Regions from separate parts of the Homo sapiens genome. Here all the other regions are linked to region 1. Evidence: promoter capture Hi-C in human tissues and cell types (Jung and others, 2019). All regions are on one chromosome and are shown on one strand. Each heading gives the region's core, a stretch centred on a gene start or on the middle of the fragment in contact. The rest is flanking DNA. Distances are from core to core; before and after follow the strand shown.

Evidence for each region. The method cuts DNA at HindIII sites, captures the fragments that hold promoters and counts their contacts. A contact is called where the count stands out against the background at its distance.
Region 2: a contact is called between a fragment that was not itself captured here and the fragment with the promoter of AGPAT3 in region 1, in 6 of the 25 tissues and cell types used here (IMR-90 fibroblasts, dorsolateral prefrontal cortex, hippocampus and 3 more).
Region 3: a fragment that was not itself captured here is called in contact with the fragment with the promoter of AGPAT3 in region 1 in 1 of the 25 tissues and cell types used here (dorsolateral prefrontal cortex).
Region 4: a contact is called between a fragment that was not itself captured here and the fragment with the promoter of AGPAT3 in region 1, in 1 of the 25 tissues and cell types used here (dorsolateral prefrontal cortex).
Region 5: a contact is called between a fragment that was not itself captured here and the fragment with the promoter of AGPAT3 in region 1, in 1 of the 25 tissues and cell types used here (dorsolateral prefrontal cortex).
Region 6: a fragment that was not itself captured here is called in contact with the fragment with the promoter of AGPAT3 in region 1 in 1 of the 25 tissues and cell types used here (lymphoblastoid cells).
Region 7: a fragment that was not itself captured here is called in contact with the fragment with the promoter of AGPAT3 in region 1 in 2 of the 25 tissues and cell types used here (dorsolateral prefrontal cortex and spleen).

The regions. Positions count from the first base shown.
Region 1 is chr21:43,863,943-43,866,505 of GRCh38, reverse strand. It overlaps AGPAT3 (1-acylglycerol-3-phosphate O-acyltransferase 3), which reads right to left and starts at 1,283. Exons shown (of 10, transcript NM_020132.5): 1 at 1,161-1,283. RefSeq lists silencers at 525-844, 965-1,314, 1,865-2,224. The HindIII fragment of the contact is 11,781 bases long and covers 1-2,563 here.
Region 2 is chr21:44,112,831-44,115,393 of GRCh38, reverse strand. PWP2 (PWP2 small subunit processome component) reads right to left here. Exons shown (of 21, transcript NM_005049.3): 3 at 1,547-1,641; 4 at 1,116-1,215; 5 at 626-769; 6 at 1-130. Among named protein-coding and RNA genes, the nearest start is that of PWP2, 6.7 kb to the right of the region's middle. RefSeq lists an enhancer at 1,112-1,406. The HindIII fragment of the contact is 8,457 bases long and covers 1-2,563 here.
Region 3 is chr21:44,075,082-44,077,644 of GRCh38, reverse strand. TRAPPC10 (trafficking protein particle complex subunit 10) reads right to left here. Exons shown (of 23, transcript NM_003274.5): 9 at 2,492-2,563; 10 at 1,017-1,093. Among named protein-coding and RNA genes, the nearest start is that of PWP2, 31 kb to the left of the region's middle. The HindIII fragment of the contact is 7,831 bases long and covers 1-2,563 here.
Region 4 is chr21:44,058,784-44,061,346 of GRCh38, reverse strand. TRAPPC10 (trafficking protein particle complex subunit 10) reads right to left here. Exons shown (of 23, transcript NM_003274.5): 6 at 2,133-2,244. Among named protein-coding and RNA genes, the nearest start is that of PWP2, 47 kb to the left of the region's middle. The HindIII fragment of the contact is 7,991 bases long and covers 1-2,563 here.
Region 5 is chr21:44,042,233-44,044,795 of GRCh38, reverse strand. The region is part of intron 3 of TRAPPC10 (trafficking protein particle complex subunit 10); the gene reads right to left. Among named protein-coding and RNA genes, the nearest start is that of TRAPPC10, 31 kb to the right of the region's middle. The HindIII fragment of the contact is 7,203 bases long and covers 1-2,563 here.
Region 6 is chr21:44,023,012-44,025,574 of GRCh38, reverse strand. The region is part of intron 1 of TRAPPC10 (trafficking protein particle complex subunit 10); the gene reads right to left. Among named protein-coding and RNA genes, the nearest start is that of TRAPPC10, 12 kb to the right of the region's middle. The HindIII fragment of the contact is 6,881 bases long and covers 1-2,563 here.
Region 7 is chr21:43,709,975-43,712,537 of GRCh38, reverse strand. LOC124905031 (a long non-coding RNA gene) reads left to right here and starts at 263. Exons shown (of 2, transcript XR_007067895.1): 1 at 263-1,183; 2 at 1,500-1,822. RefSeq lists enhancers at 1-450, 516-1,397. The HindIII fragment of the contact is 7,963 bases long and covers 1-2,563 here.

The DNA.
Region 1 (2,563 bases), core at 34-2,533:
TGAGAAGACGAAGTTCAGCAATTCCTAAGCGAGTCGAGTCGGAGCAGCCGCGCCTGCAATTTAAAAGCTGCAGGATCCTGGGTCCCTCTAGCAGCCTGGGCCCGCCGCCCGCCCCACCTCCCAGCCCCCAGCAGGCTCTCGGCGTTGGCTTTCATTTTTAATAAGAGCCGCATGCTCATCACCCTCTGTCTGGAGGCCAACAGCCCACATCTTTCTTCTACTAAGATCATGTTTCCCAGGAAAAAGAACCCAACTGCTCAAGTATTCTCCTAGACAAAGCTTTTAAAATTGTGCTTTTTTTTTTTTAAAGGTCTGGGAAGCCATTTATAAAAGCATTTTCCCCATGTCACTAAACTTCTCTCAAAGTTAAAAAAAAAAAAAAAAACACTGCACCATTTTTAACTGCCTTCAAATACTAATAACCCTCCTTTCCTAAGTACTTGGGACCAATGTTCCAAGGGTCCTGGGGTGGCCAGGAGTGGGTTTTCGCCCCCACGGCTCTTGCCCCCGGACTGACCCCATCCCCTGACCCGCCCGGTGCAAACGCGCCGCCGGTCTCCGGGCCGAACCCACAGCCAACCCCGGGCCCCGCAGCCCTCCCCGCGCGGAGCGGCAAAAGTGAAACTGCTCCCTTGGCCTGGGCGCGCGAGGAGGAGGCCCCTGGGGGGGGTCCCGGGTCCGCCGCGCCCCGAAACCAGGCGGCGGGCGCGTCCTGTCCACGGGGGAGCCGAGCGGGGCCCGGAGCAGAGTCCAGGACGGAGGGATGGGACGTCCCCGCGGGAACCCACTCGCCCTCCCTCGGCCCGGCCCGGGCCCCTCCCGGGCGCCCCGAACCCCCGGGCCTCCCCGCTGGGCCCAGCGCCACCGAGGCTGCTGCGGGAAGCGGCCGGGGCCTCGCGCTGGACCAGGCCGCCGGGGAGGCCGGGGTTGCGGGGGGCGCACAGGACCCGGGCCCAGACCTCCTCCCGGCCCCGCGCCTTCCCAGGCCCCGCGCCCCGCGGAGCGCGGCCGGCCCATTGCGGCGCGGGGCCCCGGGCGGCCCGAGGTCGGACGGCTGGGGCAGGGGCGACCTCCGGCGGCGGGAGGGCGACCTCGGGCGGCGGCGGGGCGTGGGGGAAGAGGGGGGCGGCCCGACCTCGGGTGGGGGCCTCGGTGCTCACCTGCAGCCGCCGCCACCTGCTCGTCGCGCGGGCGTCCCCGGCGTCGCCTCCGCGGCCCCGCTCTGGCCGCCGCGCTCCTCGGCCCTGGGCCCGGCCCGGCCCTGCGTCGGGGCCTCAGCGAGTGCGGCGCCCGCCGCCCCCGGCCCCCATCCCGCCGCCCTCCGCCCTCCGCCCTCGGCCGCGCCGCCGCCGCCACTTCCTGTGCGCGGCGATCCCACAGTTCCGCCGGCGCGCGCGGGGCGGCCGAGGGACACGCTGGGGGGACACGGGGGAAGGACGCGGGGGGGGACGCGGGGGGACGGCGCGGGGGGGGACGCGGAGGGGACACGGGGGCGACACGGCGGGACACGCGCGCGGAGAGAGGTGTGGGCCGAGGGCGCCGGCGGGGCCGGGCGCGGAGCCTGCGTGGGATCCGCTAACGGACGGGGCTGGGGCCCGGGCTGGGGGAGGGGGCGGGCCGGGACCGCGGGGGGCGCGGGGATCAGGGGGGTCGGGGCTGAACGGGGGGAGGCGGCGAAGGACCAGGCTGGGGTCCCGCGAGGGCTCCCCCGGACCGGGTCGGGGGCAGAGGGGGCCGGGGCGCGGGGTGGGGCCGGGAGGGGCCTCCGAGCTCTGCCTGGGCCCCGCCATCTCCCCTGCCGGGGTCTCCTGCGGGCGCCGGGGAAGTTTCGCGCGCGAGCTCCTGCCCTGGTCGGCCGGGGCTTAGGGTCGCCGTCAGGGGTCGCCGCGCGGCGGGCTCGGTGGGGACGGCCCTGCGCGCAGCGGCTCCGCGGAAGGATCGCGTTTCGGCCCACGTGCCGCGCCCTTGGACTTATTCATAGTTGGCACCCGGCTGGCAACACTGTATCGACACTTGACCGTGGCGGGGGTGGGGGTCGCCCCGGGGCTGCCCTGCGAACCCCCGCGGGCGCTGACGCCGTCCCCTCCAGACCGCGGAGCCCTCTCAGCCCCAGGACAGCGGCTGCCGTCCCCCCTCCCTTGCACCTGGCCAGCGGCCGATCCCAGAACCTGCGGAGGCCGCGCAGGTGCCGCTGTCAGGGCAGGGCCCGCTGCGGGCTCCGCCTCCTGCGCCCGGTACCTTGTGTGACCTGGCGCCTGCTCAGGTCCTCAGGCCCCGGCTGGACTTGCTGAGCTTGGGTGGGCTTCATTTGAAAACCATTTAAAATACCAAGTACTGGTACTGTCTACTGTGCCCCTTTTTTTCCTTTTTTTTTTTTTTATTTTTATTATTATTGAGACAGGGTCTTGCTCTGTCGCCCACCCTGGAGTGCAGTGGTACAATCATAGCTCGCTGAAGCCTTGAACTCCAGGGCTCAAGTGATCCTCCCACCTCAGCCTCCCAAGTAGCTGGGACCACAGGCACACACCACCATGTCTGGCTAATTTAAAAAAAATTTTTTTTG
Region 2 (2,563 bases), core at 42-2,541, 250 kb before region 1:
GCTGTTGGATTCAAAGAAGCAGGCCACGATGGCATCCTTATGTCCCCCCAGTGCATAGTAGATGAGGTTGTCCCAGCGCTCGGCTCCGAACACCCAGGTGGACATGTCTTTGCTCCCAACCACAAAGCACCTGGAAAAGAGGGAGATGGCACCTCCTCAGGGCTTGGCCATAACAAAGCAGCCAGGTGCAAGCTCCAGAGGGCTGCACGGAGACCGCTACAGCCCCACGTGGTCTCAGAGTGAGCTGAGACGCCTCCAGGCACAGGAAGACACCCCGGCACAGCCCCTGCCCTGTCTGCCTTCCTCACACCTCCCAGACGCTGTCCCTGCCCTGTCTGCCTTCCTAACTCCTCCCAGACGCTGCCCGAGCCAACCACAGCATTCCCAGTTTCTGGGACAAACAGGTGAAAGGGCAGTGCAGGGGCAGGAGGCTCGGCCACAGCACACACTTCAGAGCCGCAAAGACTCGACCACAGCCACCCAGCCAGTCCTGATGGTGTGGGCAGCGCCCAGCCCCAAAGGAGGCCGAGATGCCATTGCGGAACGAAGCTGCAGGGCCCAAGGGGGTGACCTGTCCAAGGGGCCTCTCTCAAGCCCCGCTCCCCCGAAGCCTCTGAGGCCGCACCTGGAGTCATCCGTCCAGTCGATGCAGGTGGTCTCATCGTAGGGCCCAAAATAGGTCTTGTCCAGAACGAAGGCGTTGAACTCCCGCTTCTTCCCAGGGGCATGATACATCTGGGCAATGTTACCCTTTGTGACAACAAACTTCCTATGGAAGGAACGCGGACATAGTTGATATTCAAGACCAGCAATGGCCCTAAGGCCACTGTGGAGTCTCAGCCTGCACCCACCTGGGCCTTCTGGAGTCCCGCCTCCTGCAGGATGGAGGCCAAGGAGCAGAGGAAGCAAAAGTCAGGGAAGAAACAGCCCTGGAGGGAGGGCAGCCTGGCCGCACCAAGCCTTCTCCTCCAGAAAAGGGGGTCACCAATGCCAGAGCTTGGGCCGTGTGCCCAACCCAACGTCACAACCCGGGGCCCAGGGAAACGAGCTGGGCAGTGGGCCTCACCGTCGGCATGCACGGCCGAACCCTCCTGCCCCCAAGCTGTCCCCCTTACCTGCCATCAGGGGAGAAGGACACACTGTGCACAGAGCCCTTGAAGTGGAAGTGGTGCAGCACAGACCTGCAGACCAGGCTGACCAGCAGCGCATCGCCCCCTGCAGGACGCCAGAGGTCACCACCGCGCAGCTACCCCAGGGGCCACCCCAGATACATAGCACGGGAAAAACGGAGAAAGGTCTTTCTCGCGTCCACTGTGAGGAGTCAGGACTGAGAATGCCCAAGGGCCATGAGGCCCTGCCCTGCCACAGGTGATGCCACAGACACAGCCTGCGGCGGGGACGCAGCCTCGCCCATGACACCCTCATCCCCAATCCCCACCCGGGCCCCAACACGGAGGCGACTGGGGAGCGGATCATTTCAGACCCACACAGCCCTGAGTCCTCCTCACTGGTCCCCTCAGTACCCGCCCACATCAAGGGCAAGTACCTTCATCGACGATGATAGCGAGGCGGCCATCCGGGGACAGCCCCACGCACTTGACGTTGTACCGAGTGGCCAGGGGCAGCGTGTCAGATTTGTTGCTGATAAAGACAAAAACCACAGTGTGCTGTTGGTCCTCAAGTCACATGAGGGAGACAGGCCAGGCCTGGCCTGGGACCAGCGGCTCACCCTCCCCAAGTAGCGCCTCCAATCTTACTGGACCCCACAAGCCAGAGCTCATCTGTGGATACCCCCCACTCCTGAAAAAGAAATGACATTGTTGGCCGGGCACGGTGGCTCACGCCTATAATCCTAGTGCTTTGGGAGGCCAAGGCGGGCATATCATAAGGTCAGGAGTACGAGACCTGCCTGGTCAACATGGTGAAACCCCGTCTCTACTATAAAAACAAAAAACAAAAAATTGGACAGGCGCGGTGGCTCACACCTGTAATCCCGGCACTTTGAGAGGCCAAGGCGGGCGGATCACGAGGTCAGGAGATTGAGACCATCCTCACTAACACGGTGAAACCCCGTCTTTACTAAAAATACAAAAAATTAGCCGGGTGTGGTGGCGGGCGCCTGTAGTCCCGGCTATTCAGGAGGCTGAGGCAGGAGAATGGCGTAAACCCGGGAGGTGTAGCTTGCAGTGAGCCAAGGTTGCACCACTGCACTCCAGCCTGGGCGACAGGGCAAGACTCTGCCTCAAAACAAACAAACAAACAAAAAAACCCAAAAAATTAGCCAGGCGTGGTGGTGGGCGCCTGTAATACCAGCTACTCAAGAGGCTGACGCAGGAGAATCGCTTGAACCTGGGAGGCAGAGGTTGCAGTGAGCTGGGACCGCACCACTGCACTCCAGCCTAGGTGACAGAGCAAGACTCTGTCTCAAAAAAAAAAAGAAAAAGAAATGACGTTGTCCCTGGAGGAACTCTAGTGAAATGCATTAAAAGCCTTAAAAATGGGCTTTGGATACATCAATTCTGCTTCCAGGATGATATGATGAGAGGATTATTCCGCCTCAGTG
Region 3 (2,563 bases), core at 23-2,522, 210 kb before region 1:
ACAAATACTACATTTATTCACCTAAAGCTCACACAAAAGACATTGTTGGGTTTTTGTTTTGAGACAGAGTCTTGCTCCATCGCCCAGGCTGGAGCACAGCGGTGAGATCTCAGCTCACTGCAACCTCCGCCTCATAGGTTGAAGTGATTCTTGTGCCTCAGCTTCCCAAGTAGCTGGGACTACAGGCGCCACCAGGCCCGGCTAATTTTTTGTATCTTTAGCAGAGACAGGATTTCACCATGTTGGCTAGGCTGGTCTCAAACTCCTGACCTCAAGTGATCCACCTGCCTCAGCCTCCCAAAGTGCTGAATTACAGGCGTGAGCCACCATGCCCAGCCCGCAGAAGACATTGCTAATAATGTAACATTATTTTTTCCTTTGCATCTATTTTTGTGAATTTTTCTGTAATATATAAGCAAAATTGGTAACCTGTGTATAAATTATGAAGCATAATAATAAAAGAAACCCACAAACTCATCCAAAACATCTAACTTTTCCAAGGACTTTCTGCACGTGGGTGACATGCTGGGTATTTTTCATACTTGTGTGTATAAGAGGTACAGCCATTACGGGCAGACCAAACGCTCAAGTTGCCCATGACCCGGGAATGACGCTGACCCACCACACTTCTGCCTACGCCGTTTTTTAAAGTTTTGCTAATTTAAGTCTTTCAAAATCAAATACAATAGCTCTGCCCAAGTCCAAATTACTCCTTTTTACAAAGAAAAGTATTCACTAGCCTCTCTTATAATTTCTGTGTGAGCAAACCCAATTTGAACAAAACGGTAAATATTCAAAGATGATTCCATGCCTAGCATGGTACCATGGGCACTAATACACATTTGATGAACTACTCCATGTTTTGTCCACAACTCCCCAGGTACCAAAGAAACTAAAAAAAACCAACAAGAAGGGGCCCCCCACACCAGTTCCTTCCCAACTCAACAGGCCATGTAGCAAAGCCTTCTAGAGACAGGTATTCACAGAACAGACATTGAACACTTGTTAATACTTACTAAGTAGTGTTTTTCAAAAGCTTCCACTGACGATAATGCTTCTTTCAGTTTCTTATAAGGACTCTGAGCTGTGTTGGCTTAAACAGAAAGAAACGAGAGTCCCTCTTCATCTTCATCATGTCCAGTCACATGACTTTACATTCACCTTCACATACTGCAGGTAGATGACCTCATCTGACTCTTGTGAAATTACAAACCGGCCAATGCCAACGGAAACTACATGATTATGTACATTCTCTTTCAATTCACATATTCATAAAATAGTCAAAACGCTTTGTGTCATGCTTTTTCTCTGATCTTTAGAACTAAACTTTTTTAGAAACATATATTACAAATACTCCGATGAATTAAATTACTTCCGAAGTGATCTGAAATGGTCTCAAGTTGAAACAATGAAATATAAATACTACGTATTTTTTCCCTTAAACATTTATTCAATTTACTAAGAATGTTTTCAGCTCATCAGATATTCTTTAGCAACAGTCTTGCTAAATAATACTCATCATATATTCCTACGTAAAACAATGAGTAATCCTCCTTTCAAAGAGCCTTATTATCCAGGAGAATTTTTTTTTTTTTTTGACAGAGTTTTGCTCTTGTTGCCCAGGCTGGAGTGCAATGGAGCAATCTTTGTTCACCACAACCTCCACCTCCCAGGTTCAAGCGATTCTCCTGCCTCAGCCTCCCGAATAGCTGGGATTACAGGCATGCACCACCACACCCGGCTAATTTTGTATTTTTAGTAGAGATGGGGTTTCTCCATGTTGGTCAGGCTGGTCTCGAATTCCTGACCTCAGGTGATCCGCCCACCTCGGCCTCCCAAAGTGCTGGGATTACAGGTGGGAGCCACCGTGCCCAGCCAATTTATTTTAAAAAATTTGCTGGGAGGCCAGGGCAGGAGGATCACTTTAGGCCAGGAGTTTGAGACCAGCCTGGGCAATACAGCGAGACTCCATCTCTACAAAAAATTAAAAAATTAGCCAAGTATGGTAGCACACACCTGTAGTCCCAGCTACCTGGGAGGGTGAGGCAAGAGGATCCCTTGAGCCCAGGAGGTCGAGGCTGCAGTGAGCCAAGATTGTGCCACTACACTCCAGTCTGGGCAACAGAGTGAGACCCTGTCTCTTAAAAAAAAAAAAAATCGTCAGGTCGTATTGTTAGAAAAACAGATCATCTGTAATTCAGAGAGACAGTGGTGCATTTGAACATGAGCTATAAAGTCCCTTAAGCCCAGGAGAAACTCAGCTACATTTCTGAAACTCCTTCCAATTTCTTCAACTATTTCTAATATTGCATTATGCTGTTAAAAGGTAAACTATCATGTGCTTTAATCCAGTCAGCTAACAATGGGTATAATTTTCCAAATGGTGAGTAATATGATTACTCTTAGAACTTCGGTTAAATGTGCCAACTTGCAAAGGACATTTTCATTACTGTCCACCTCACCACTCACACAGGTATATACAAAAAAGTACCTGTTTCTGGTCGCTCAGCTCCCAAACCTGCCAAAAGGTCAACTGTCCTGTTGAGATCTTCTGAGTTAGGTC
Region 4 (2,563 bases), core at 19-2,518, 190 kb before region 1:
TAACACGGTGAAACCCCGTCTCTACTAAAAATACAAAAAAAAATTAGCCGGGCTTGGTGGCGGGCACCTGTAGTCGCAGCTACTCAGGAGGCTGAGGCAGGAGAATGGCGTGAACCCGGGAGGCGGAGGTTGCAGTGAGCCGAGATGGCGCCACTGCACTCCAGCCTGGGCTACAGAGCAAGACTCCGTCTCAAAAAATAAAATAAAATTAAATTAAATTAAAATTAAAATAAATAAATAAATTAGCTGGGCGTGGTGGTGCGCACCTGTAGTCCCAGCTATTTGGGAGGCTGAGGCAAGAGAATCGCTTGAAATCAGGAGGAGAAGGTTGCAGTGAGCCAAGATCACACCACTGCACTCCAGCCTGGCAACAAAGCAAGACTCCGTCTCAAAAAAAAAGTGTGTGTGTGTGTGTGTGTGTGTGTGTGTGTATGTATGTATGTATAGGCTGGGCATGGTGGCTCACAACTATAATCCCAGCACTTTGGGAAGCCGAGGCAAGAGGATCACTTGGGGCCAGGAGTTCGAGACCAGCCTGGCCAACATGGTGAAACCCCGTTTCTACTAAAAATATAGAAATTAGCCAGGTATGGTGGCATGCACCTGTAATCCCAGCTACTCAGGAGGCTTAGGCACGAAAATCGCTTGAACCCTGGAGGCAGAGGTTGCAGTGGGCCAAGATCACACCACTGCCCTCCAGCCTGGGGGACAGAGTGAGACACTGTCTCAAAAATAAATAAATAGATATGTTTGTATAATATGGACACATAAGGCCGGGCATGGTGGCTCACACCTGCAATCCCAGCACTTTGGGAGGCTGAGGCGGATCACGAGGTCAGGAGATCGAGACCATCCTGGCTAACATGGTGAAAACCCGTCTCTACTAAAAATACAAAACATTAGCCAGGCGTGGTGGCAGGCGCCTGTAGTCCCAGTCCCACTGCTGAGGCAGGAGAATGGCATGAATGGCATGAACCCGGGAGGCAAAGCTTGCAGTGAGCCGAGATTGTGCCACTGCACTCCAGCCTGGGCAACAGTGCAAGACTCCATTTCAAAAAAAAAAAAAAAAAAGACACATAAAATATAAGAAATAGAAGTGTTTTTTTATTTTATTTTTTTACTTAGTAAACACTTTGCTTTGGTTCTGTGTCTATACTGGCATCTCAGGAGAGTGAGATATCCAGACCTGATCTTCAGAAGCACTATGAGCCAGTATCCATCGGCGCCACTGATGAGTTCCAGAGTGAGGACAGTGCTCACAGCTAGAACTGACCGTCCCCACACTTCATCTCCCTCCAGGTTCTCCTGCTGACACCAGGGCTCCTCAAAATTACTCCTTCCTTCACACATGGTGACAAGGGTTCTCAAAAAGAACACCTGGCAGAGATGCCCACTACAGCACTGCTTGTGGTGGCAAGAAGCATAAAAGAACCCAATGTCCAACACCAGGTAATGGAATCAAGCCAGGAATACCAATTGTAACAAAAACAACTCCAAACCCCACCTGCTAACCTGGAGAGATGCCCAGGATGGGCTGTGAGTAACAAAAAGGAGCGACAGAGAAACAGCTATATAACGTGGTATCACTTTCATCAAAATAAGTATCAGCGAAAAACACTGAGGACAATAACCAATGTTTCTCTCTGTGTATGGTTTCACTGTGCTAATTCTTTAATTGTAAAGGAGCTTAAGATATTATTTAAAAGTGCAAAAGAAAGATGAACACCCAAGGGCATTTTATAAGTTCACAGCAATGAGCACTCGAGCATTCCAAAGATAACCCCTGGATGGAAGGCAAAGGGACGTCCACTCTGATTCTAACGAGGGACAGAATCGAAGCATCACCAGCAGGCCACTGAGTTGTGGAAAGGACATTTTATACCTGGAAAACAGTTTTTTTAAATTATTATTATTTTTGTTACTTAAGATTCTTCTAAAAGTGAAAATGACTAATTCTTAATTCTCATTTCATTTCCTCTAGGAATCACGAGAATATATCCGATATAATGTGTATAAAGACAACAACAAAACATGCGTACTCCTGAGGTAAATAAATGGCTGCTTCAAGCCTATCTGAAGTTGGAGAAAGCCACACTAAGAAAAGCATGCGTTACTGAAGTGCCACTACTCACCCCCGGCCCCGAAGTTGACCACATACTGAGAGAAGAGGGCGTCCAGTTCGTCGTACTGCACCAGGGCGTCCTCGAACTGCTGCAGCATCTCGAAAACAAAGGCAAGCTCCTCCTATTCGCCCAAGATACGTTTTTTAAAAAAACAAAAACATAAATCAATGTATAGAAGAAACAGTATGTAGCCATTAAACGACAGAGAAAGGCACGCAGCACTATGAATAATGTCTACGCTCCGCTAAGTAACAACCAATGTGACGACCGCATATGTCAACATTCACGCATGCACAAGAAGCTAGGAAAAGCTAAGGTAATTTCTGAACCCTCCCCGACCTATCGGCAGCACCAGATATAACTGGTCACCCCCCTGTCCTTGGGATGTTTCCTGCTGTCCAGGACCTGGCCACCTGCTCCCCTCGCCCCTCACTGTGGCT
Region 5 (2,563 bases), core at 41-2,540, 180 kb before region 1:
GCTACTTCAGAGGCTGAGGCAGGAGTATCGATTGAACCTGGGAGGCGGAGGTTGCAGTGAGCTGAGATCACCCCACTGCACTCCAGCCTGGACAAGAGCGAAACTCTGTCTCAAAAAAAAAAAAAAAAAAAAAAAGACATGATTTTCTATTTTAATCTCTCCAAGGCATAACAGACTGTTTAAGGCAAAAAATAGTAACAATGTACTATGGGGTTTTAACAAGTATAGAAAATGTATGACAACAATAACAAAGGCTGGGAGGGAGAAAACAGAAGTCAATGATCCAAAGTTCTTATATCACGCATCAAGTAATATAATTCATATTACTTGAAGGAAGAATTATGCTGTTACAGATGTACTCTATAAGTCCTAAAGCAACTATTCAACATAACAGAGTTTTACTTTAAATCTAAAATCCTCAATATTATCAACTTACTCCTTTTTTTAAATAGACGATAATCAAGATTTGAAAAAAAAAAGGCTATTAGAATGTAATTTTAAGGAAAAAAGTCTCATTCAAAATGGCCACAAAAGCTAAAGCTAACAATAAAAATGTAAAACTTTTACGAAAAATAAGGGCAGAAAAAAGTCATAAAGAATGGAAAAACATACATACCACATTCCCTGATTCAAGAAGACTCATGATTAAAATTCTTCTCAAATGAATTAACAACTTATTCAAGGCAATCCCAATCAAAATGCCTCCAGCCTTCTCTTTTTCAACTGATATTCCAGTTATCTACTGCTGTGTAACAGGCCACTCCAAGCTATAGTGGTGTAAAACTTTCTTTTGCTCACGGATCTACAACTGAGAGAGGATTTGGTGGGAACCAAGGTCTCTGCTCCACCTGGTGTCAGTGGCGTGTTGAGGCTGGGAGCTAAAACACACAGTGGGACTCAGCTGGGGCAGGCTGAACACCTGCGAGTGGCCTTCCCACGGGGCTGCTTGGCTTCCCCACAGCATGGTGGCTGGAATCTAAGAACAAGCACCCCGAGAGAATCCAGCAGAAGGCACGTTATCTTTTAGGACTTCCTCTCAAGTATCACAGTGTTGCTTCTGCCACAGTCAGAGGCCCACCCAGATTCAACTGGAGGAAACACAGGCCCAGCCTTTCAACAAGGGAAAGTCACTGTCACATAGAGAGGAGCATGTGGGATGGGTATGCTGCTACAGCCATCTTCAGAAAATAAATTTGGACACTCGACATGTGGAAGGGAAAATGTAGATGGCCACAAGGTTTATTTTAAAAGAAAGATATTGATACATATTATAAAAGTGTAATAGGCCAGGCACGGTGGCTCACGCTTGCAATCCCAGCACTTTGGGATGCCGAGGCGGGTGGATCACGAGGTCAGGAGTTTGAGACCAGCCTGGCCAATATGGTGAAACCCCGTCTCCACTAATAATACAAAAATTAGCCAGGGGTGGTGGTGGGCGCCTGTAGTCCCAGCTACTCAGGAGACTGGGACAGAAGAATCGCTTGAACCCGGGAGGTAAAGGTTGCAGTGAGCCAAGATCAAGCCACTGCACTCCAGCCTGGGCAACAGGGTAAGACTCCATCCCAAAAAAAAAAAAAAAAAAAAAAGCGTAATAATTAAAAGTCTGATTCTGGCACAGGATAGACAATGATCAATAGAACCAAAGTGTCTAGAATATTGTGCATACAGGATGTTGGTTTAAAATACAGGTGACATTCCCAGTAAGTGGAGAAAAGACACACTATTATGAAATGGTGTTAGGCCAATTTGCTATGCATTCAGACAGTAAAATTAGACCCTCAACTCCCAGAGCTCCTAATATATATAAATAATTTGAAGCTATACGGGTCCCAATATAAGACATAAATTACAAAATTATTAAAATAAAATACAGAAAATCAGTTCTCTTCAGACAGACAAGGCCTCCCTAAGCAAGATACACTGCCCAGAAGCCATTCTGTAAATGACATATTTCACTCCATAAAAACTGTAAGTTGTAAACACCTAAGCACCAAATAATACATCAACCACCTATACAAAACAGAAACTACAGGAGATGCAAGAGAAACAGAAACACACCACTAACAGAAGACTTTACCATACCACTGTCAGTTAAAGATAGGTCAAATGGACAAAATTCAAAATATAAATGACCTAAACAACACAAGCAGTAAGATAGGTCTTGTGGATATTTAACATTACAATCTGGAAACAGAAAATACATTCTCAAACACACATGAAATGTCCAAAAAAACTGATCATTTATTAGGTCACACAACAGTCAAATTCATAAAATTTTAAAAATAAGTTTCATAAAGCAAAAATATAAACACTTTCTGAACACAATGCAATAAAGCTAGAAATTTCTAAACAAAATTTTTTTAATCTTTTTTTTTCTGTAAGCTAAAAAGCTTTCTGTTAAACAACTATTTAATGAAAGGGTGAAATACAAATCAAAAATAGAGAATTTCTGAAAAATAATGATAAAACAATGGGATATATTTAAAGTAGTAACCAGAGAAAAATTCCTAACTTTAAAGACCTATATCAATAAAAATTTAAGAATGAAAATAAATGCATTTCA
Region 6 (2,563 bases), core at 17-2,516, 160 kb before region 1:
AAGGAAACAAGTTGCCTTCTCTAGCCCTCAGAGAGCAAACTTAAAATTCAAGAGTTTAAAAACAAAAAGACTGGATAAATGCATCTGAATATAAGAATACTGAGGAATCAGCCTTTAACAGTGTATACATTTTTTAAATAAACACAGCATTACTGTAGCAGTTTGAACCACAGTACTGTATTTACAAGTTAAAAAGAGACACTCCTGTTCCTGGCACCCCAATGCCTTAAGGCTTTAGACAGAAGGGTTCCCAAACTGGTCTTTCCCCAGACTTCCCCTTTGCCACTGGCTTTGTTCAAGGGCTGGCTTCTCAGCGAGGCCTACAGGCAGTTTCCCAATGGTGCAAGCACTCAGGAGGGAGCTGAGGCAGCATCAGCACAGTGACATAACCATTTGCCTCAGCCCAGCAACCCGCCCTGCAGGGCTCCATCCCAACAGGCCCGTCGGAAAGGCCACAGACAGGCTATCTGTGCACAACTACTGGAAACAGTAAAACACAAAACAACTCAAATTCCACCAGGAGGGGACTGGCAGAATAAACCACGGAATATCGACATCATGGAATGAGAATGATCTCAACATACTCCTAGCGTGGAGTGGAGTCCGGGGGAAAGTGAGGTGGGACAGTGTGTGCAGCTGGCAATGTCTAAGCTAAGAAAGGGAAATACAAATATGTTTGGATGTTTTTCACGTGGAAGGAAAACCATAAAAACTGTGATGGAGTACTCAGGAAGGGAGGAGTTAGCATGGAGAGGACAGAACATACACAAGGCTTCTTTAAATAGACCTCATTTTGTAGATTTAATTTTGGAAGTAAATATTTTATATAGTTATAAAGCAATTAGATTTTTTCAAGGTTTTCCCTAAAAATAATCAGGAAAAATAAAACAAGTGAACTTAAATGTATACATATACATTTAGTGGTATAATCTCAGAGAGAGGAGCTATGACAAGTAACTTTAAAACTACAGTAATTTGACTGTTCATTCCTTATGGGATACATCCAAATGCCAATAAGAACTGTCAAAAACAGTTCTAGACCTGTGTTCACTAGTCCTGTTGTTGATGGTGGAGTTAATAGTGTTATTCAGAGTCTATGTAATGAGGGATAAAGCAACTGAAAGCAAGTGAGCAATCGTGTGATGTTCTATTCAGTGGCCCCTGGCCCTTCAGCATCAGCACCACCTGGGCATTTGTTAGAAATGCTCATTCTCAGGCCCCACCCAGACCTGTTCAATCAGAAATGGGGAATGGACCCAGCCATCTGTGTGTCCACAAGCCCTCCAGGTGACTGAAGCAGCATGAGCTGGGGAACCTCTAACTCTAGCCTCCTCAAGTACCCATGAGAATTAGGATTTTCAGTGTGGAAAAGAGAAAACACAGAGGATGGAGCTGTTAATTAAAACCCTGCAGCCCTGAGTTTTCATCAAAAAGAGTGAACTTATGATGTATTTTATCTTAAAAATACAAAAAACAAAGAACAATTCCTAGGCTGGTGCGGTGGCTCACGCCTGTAATCCCAATGCTTTGGGAGGCCAAGGTGGGTGGATCACCTGAGGTCGGGAATTTGAGACCAGCTTGGCCAACACGGTGAAACCCTGTCTCTACTAAAAATATAAAAATTAGCCAGATGTGATGGCATGCACCTGTAATCCCAGCTACTCACTACTCGGGAGGCTGAGGCACAAGAATCTCTTGAACCTGAGAGGCAGAGGTTGCAGTGGGCTGAGATCGTGCCATTGCACTACAGCATGGGCAACAGAGTAAGAGCCTGTCTCAAAACAAAACAAAACAAAAACAAAAAACAAACAAACAAAAATGCCTAGCTATTCCTAGCTCTGCCTATTGAAAAGGCCTCACAGCAACTAGGAGCCCAAGCTTGCAGACTATGGTCTTGAAATACTATTTTTCACTAAAAGGAATCAGGGCTCCTTGGCAATTGCTAAGTGCAGATCAGGGCATTAAATGTTCAAAATGAGCCCGGAACATCTTGTCAGGCTAGATAGGAAAGAATCTGACAAAGATGCCTCTATCTTAGACCCCAACATGAAAGAGACTCTCCCTGGCCAAAGGGAGAACAACCTGCTCACCAACGAGGCAACAATGCAATGGACTGTAACACATCAAGTATGTTCATAATGATTAAGTTCACAGCCATACTAAACGAACAACAAAAACACGCCAACCGATCACCTCTGAAAGATGCCAGTGAACCAACTCACTTTGAAAATGGTTACATAGGCCGGGCGCGGTGGCTCACATCTGTAATCCCAGCACTTTGGGAGGCTGAGGCGGGAGGATCACGACGAGGTCAGGAGATCGAGACCATCCTGGCTAACACGGTGAAACCCCATCTCTACTAAAAATACAAAAAATTAGCCCGGCGTGGTGGCGGGCACCTGTAGTCCCAGCTACTCGGGAGGCTGAGGCAGGGGAATGGCGTGAACCCGGGAGGTGGAACTTGCAGTGAGCCAAGATGGAGCCACTGCACTCCAGCATGGGCGACAGAGCAAGACTCTGTCTCAAAAAAAAAAAAAAAAAAAAAAAAAGACATAGGGAAATG
Region 7 (2,563 bases), core at 40-2,539, 150 kb after region 1:
AGGGTTAGCGAGTTTGGTGTCAAGCCAGGTAGTGGCGTGGGGTGTGTGATCCGTGGAAGGCATGAGAGAATGCTCTAGTGGGGGGTTAACCGAGCCAGCCCGTCCCTACTCTGTCTCAGGTATGACTGTGTAAATAAATGTCCGTCCACACCCTGGCGGCAAATGAAATGCCCTTGCCAGCAGACCATGCCCAGAGGTTGTTTGAGCAACTGCCTCCCAGCACCACAGGGTTCCTTAATTACCATAAAGGATGTTAAAAGTCATTCAGGATTTGTGTTTGGCCAGAAGTTTGAGCGGTGTCTCTTTTTTTTTTCTTTCTTTCTTTTTTTTTTTTTTTTTGAGACGGAGTTTCGCTCTTGTTGGGCAGAGGCTGGAGTGCAATGGCGTGATCTCGGCTCACCGCAACCCTCGCCTCCCGGGTTCAAGTGATTCTCCTGCCTCAACCTTCTGAGTAGCCGGGATTATAGGCATGTGCCACCACGCCCAGCTAATTTTTTTTTTGTATTTTTGGTAGAGATGGGGTCTCCGTGTTGGTCAGACTGATCTTGAACTCCCGACCTCAGGTGACCCACCTGCCTCGGCCTCTCAAAGTGCTGGGATTATAGGTGTGAGCCACTGTGCCCGACCCTGAGCGGTGTCTTAGTTAGCGGGGGATGCTTTAACAAAATGCACAAAGTAACAAAAGAGCCAAGCCATGAAAGAGAAAGCAACAGGAGAAGCAAGGAAAGCACAGATTTACTGAAGACATTTCAGAGTGGGAGCAGGCTCAAGCAAGCGGCTCAGGTGCCTCTTCTTTTGGGTTTTTGTTTTGTTTTGTTTTTTGAGACCGAGTCTCTGTCGCCCAGGCTGGAGTGCCAGTGGTACGATCTCGGCTCACTGCAAGCTCCGCCTCCCGGGTTCACGCCATTCTCCTGCCTCAGCCTCCCGAGTAGCTGAGACTATAGGCACCCACTGCCACGCCTGGCTAATTTTTTTGTATTTTCAGTAGAGATGGGGTTTCACCGTGTTAGCCAGGATGATCTCGATCTCCTGACCTCGTGATCCGCCCGCCTCGGCCTCCCAAAGTGCTGGGATTACAGGCGTGAGCATGAATTTCTTCTTTACATGTAGCTTCCAGTACCCAGATCACATGATTTTTGATGGAAGTCCAGTGTGATCCGTATTCTTGTTCCTCTATAGGAAGGTACTTTCCCTCCGACATCTTTCAAGATATTCTGTCTCTGGTTTCCTGCAGTTTGAATACGACATGCCAAAGTTCCTATTTTTTGGCATTTGTTGTACTTAGTGTTCTCTAAGCTTCCTAGATCTGTGGTTTGGTGTCTGACACCAATTTTGAAAAATGAGAAGCCATTATTACTTCAAATATTTCTTCTATCCCTTTCTCCCTCTCCTCTTCTGGTATTGCCATTATGAGTGTGTAAATTACCTTCTATAATTGTCCCGTAGTTCTAGGATATTCTGTTCAGTTATTTTTACTCTTTTTTCTCCTTGCATTTCAGTTGGGGAAGTCTATGGACATGTCCTCAGCTTGCAGATTCTCTCCTGGGCTGTGTCCAGTCCACTGACGTCCGAGGCACAATCCCCCGTGTGACCCTGCCTGGCGGCGGCCTCTTGTTAGAGCTGTAAGTCACACAGGCTTCTGCCTGTCCTCTAGCTGAGTGTCACTGTATTGCGTCCCACCACCAAAAGAATCTTTAGATCTTATAAAACATCAATACACAGGCTTCTGCCTCTCCTCTAGCTGAGTGTCACTGTATTGCGTCCCACCACCAAAGGAATCTTTAAATCGTACAAAACATCAATAAAGGATTTGAGTCCTAAATATACAAGGATTTCTTTCTTTCTTTCCTCTCTTTCTTTCTCTCTCTCTTTCTTTCCTTCTCTCTTTTCTTTCTTTCCCTTCCTTCCTTTGTTTTCTCTCCTCTGTTTCTCCCTTTCTCTCTTTCTCTTTCGTCTTGCTGTTGCCCAGGCTGGAGTGCAGTGGCGTGATCTTGGCCCACTGACACCTCCACTTCCCAGGTTCAAGTGATTCTCCTGCCTCGGCCTCCCGAGTAGCTGGGATTACAGGCGCCTGCCACCACACCCGGCTAATTTTTGTATTTTTAGTAGAGATGGGGTTTTATCATGTTGGCCAGGCTGGTCTCGAACTCCTGACCTCAAGTAATCCGCCCGCCTCAGCCTCCCAAAGTGCTGGGATTACAGGCATGAGCCACTGCGCCCAGCCTTTTTTCCTTTTTTTTTTTTTAAATAGGGTCTTGCTCTACCACCCAGGCTGGAGTGCAGTACAGTAGCACACATCAGCTCACTGCAACCTCTGTCCCCTGGGCTAAAGTGATCCTCCCGCCTTAGCCTCCTGAGTAGCGGGTACTACAGGCGTGTGTCACCATGCCGGGCTAATTTTTGTACTCTTTTTTTATTTTGTAGAGAAGAGGTCTCACCATGTCGCCCAAGCTGGTCTCAAACTCCTGAGCTCAAGTGATCTGCCTGCCTCGGCCTCCCAAAGTGCTCAGATTACGGGTGTGAGCCACCACAACTGGCGAAAGAATTCTTAAAACTCAACAAT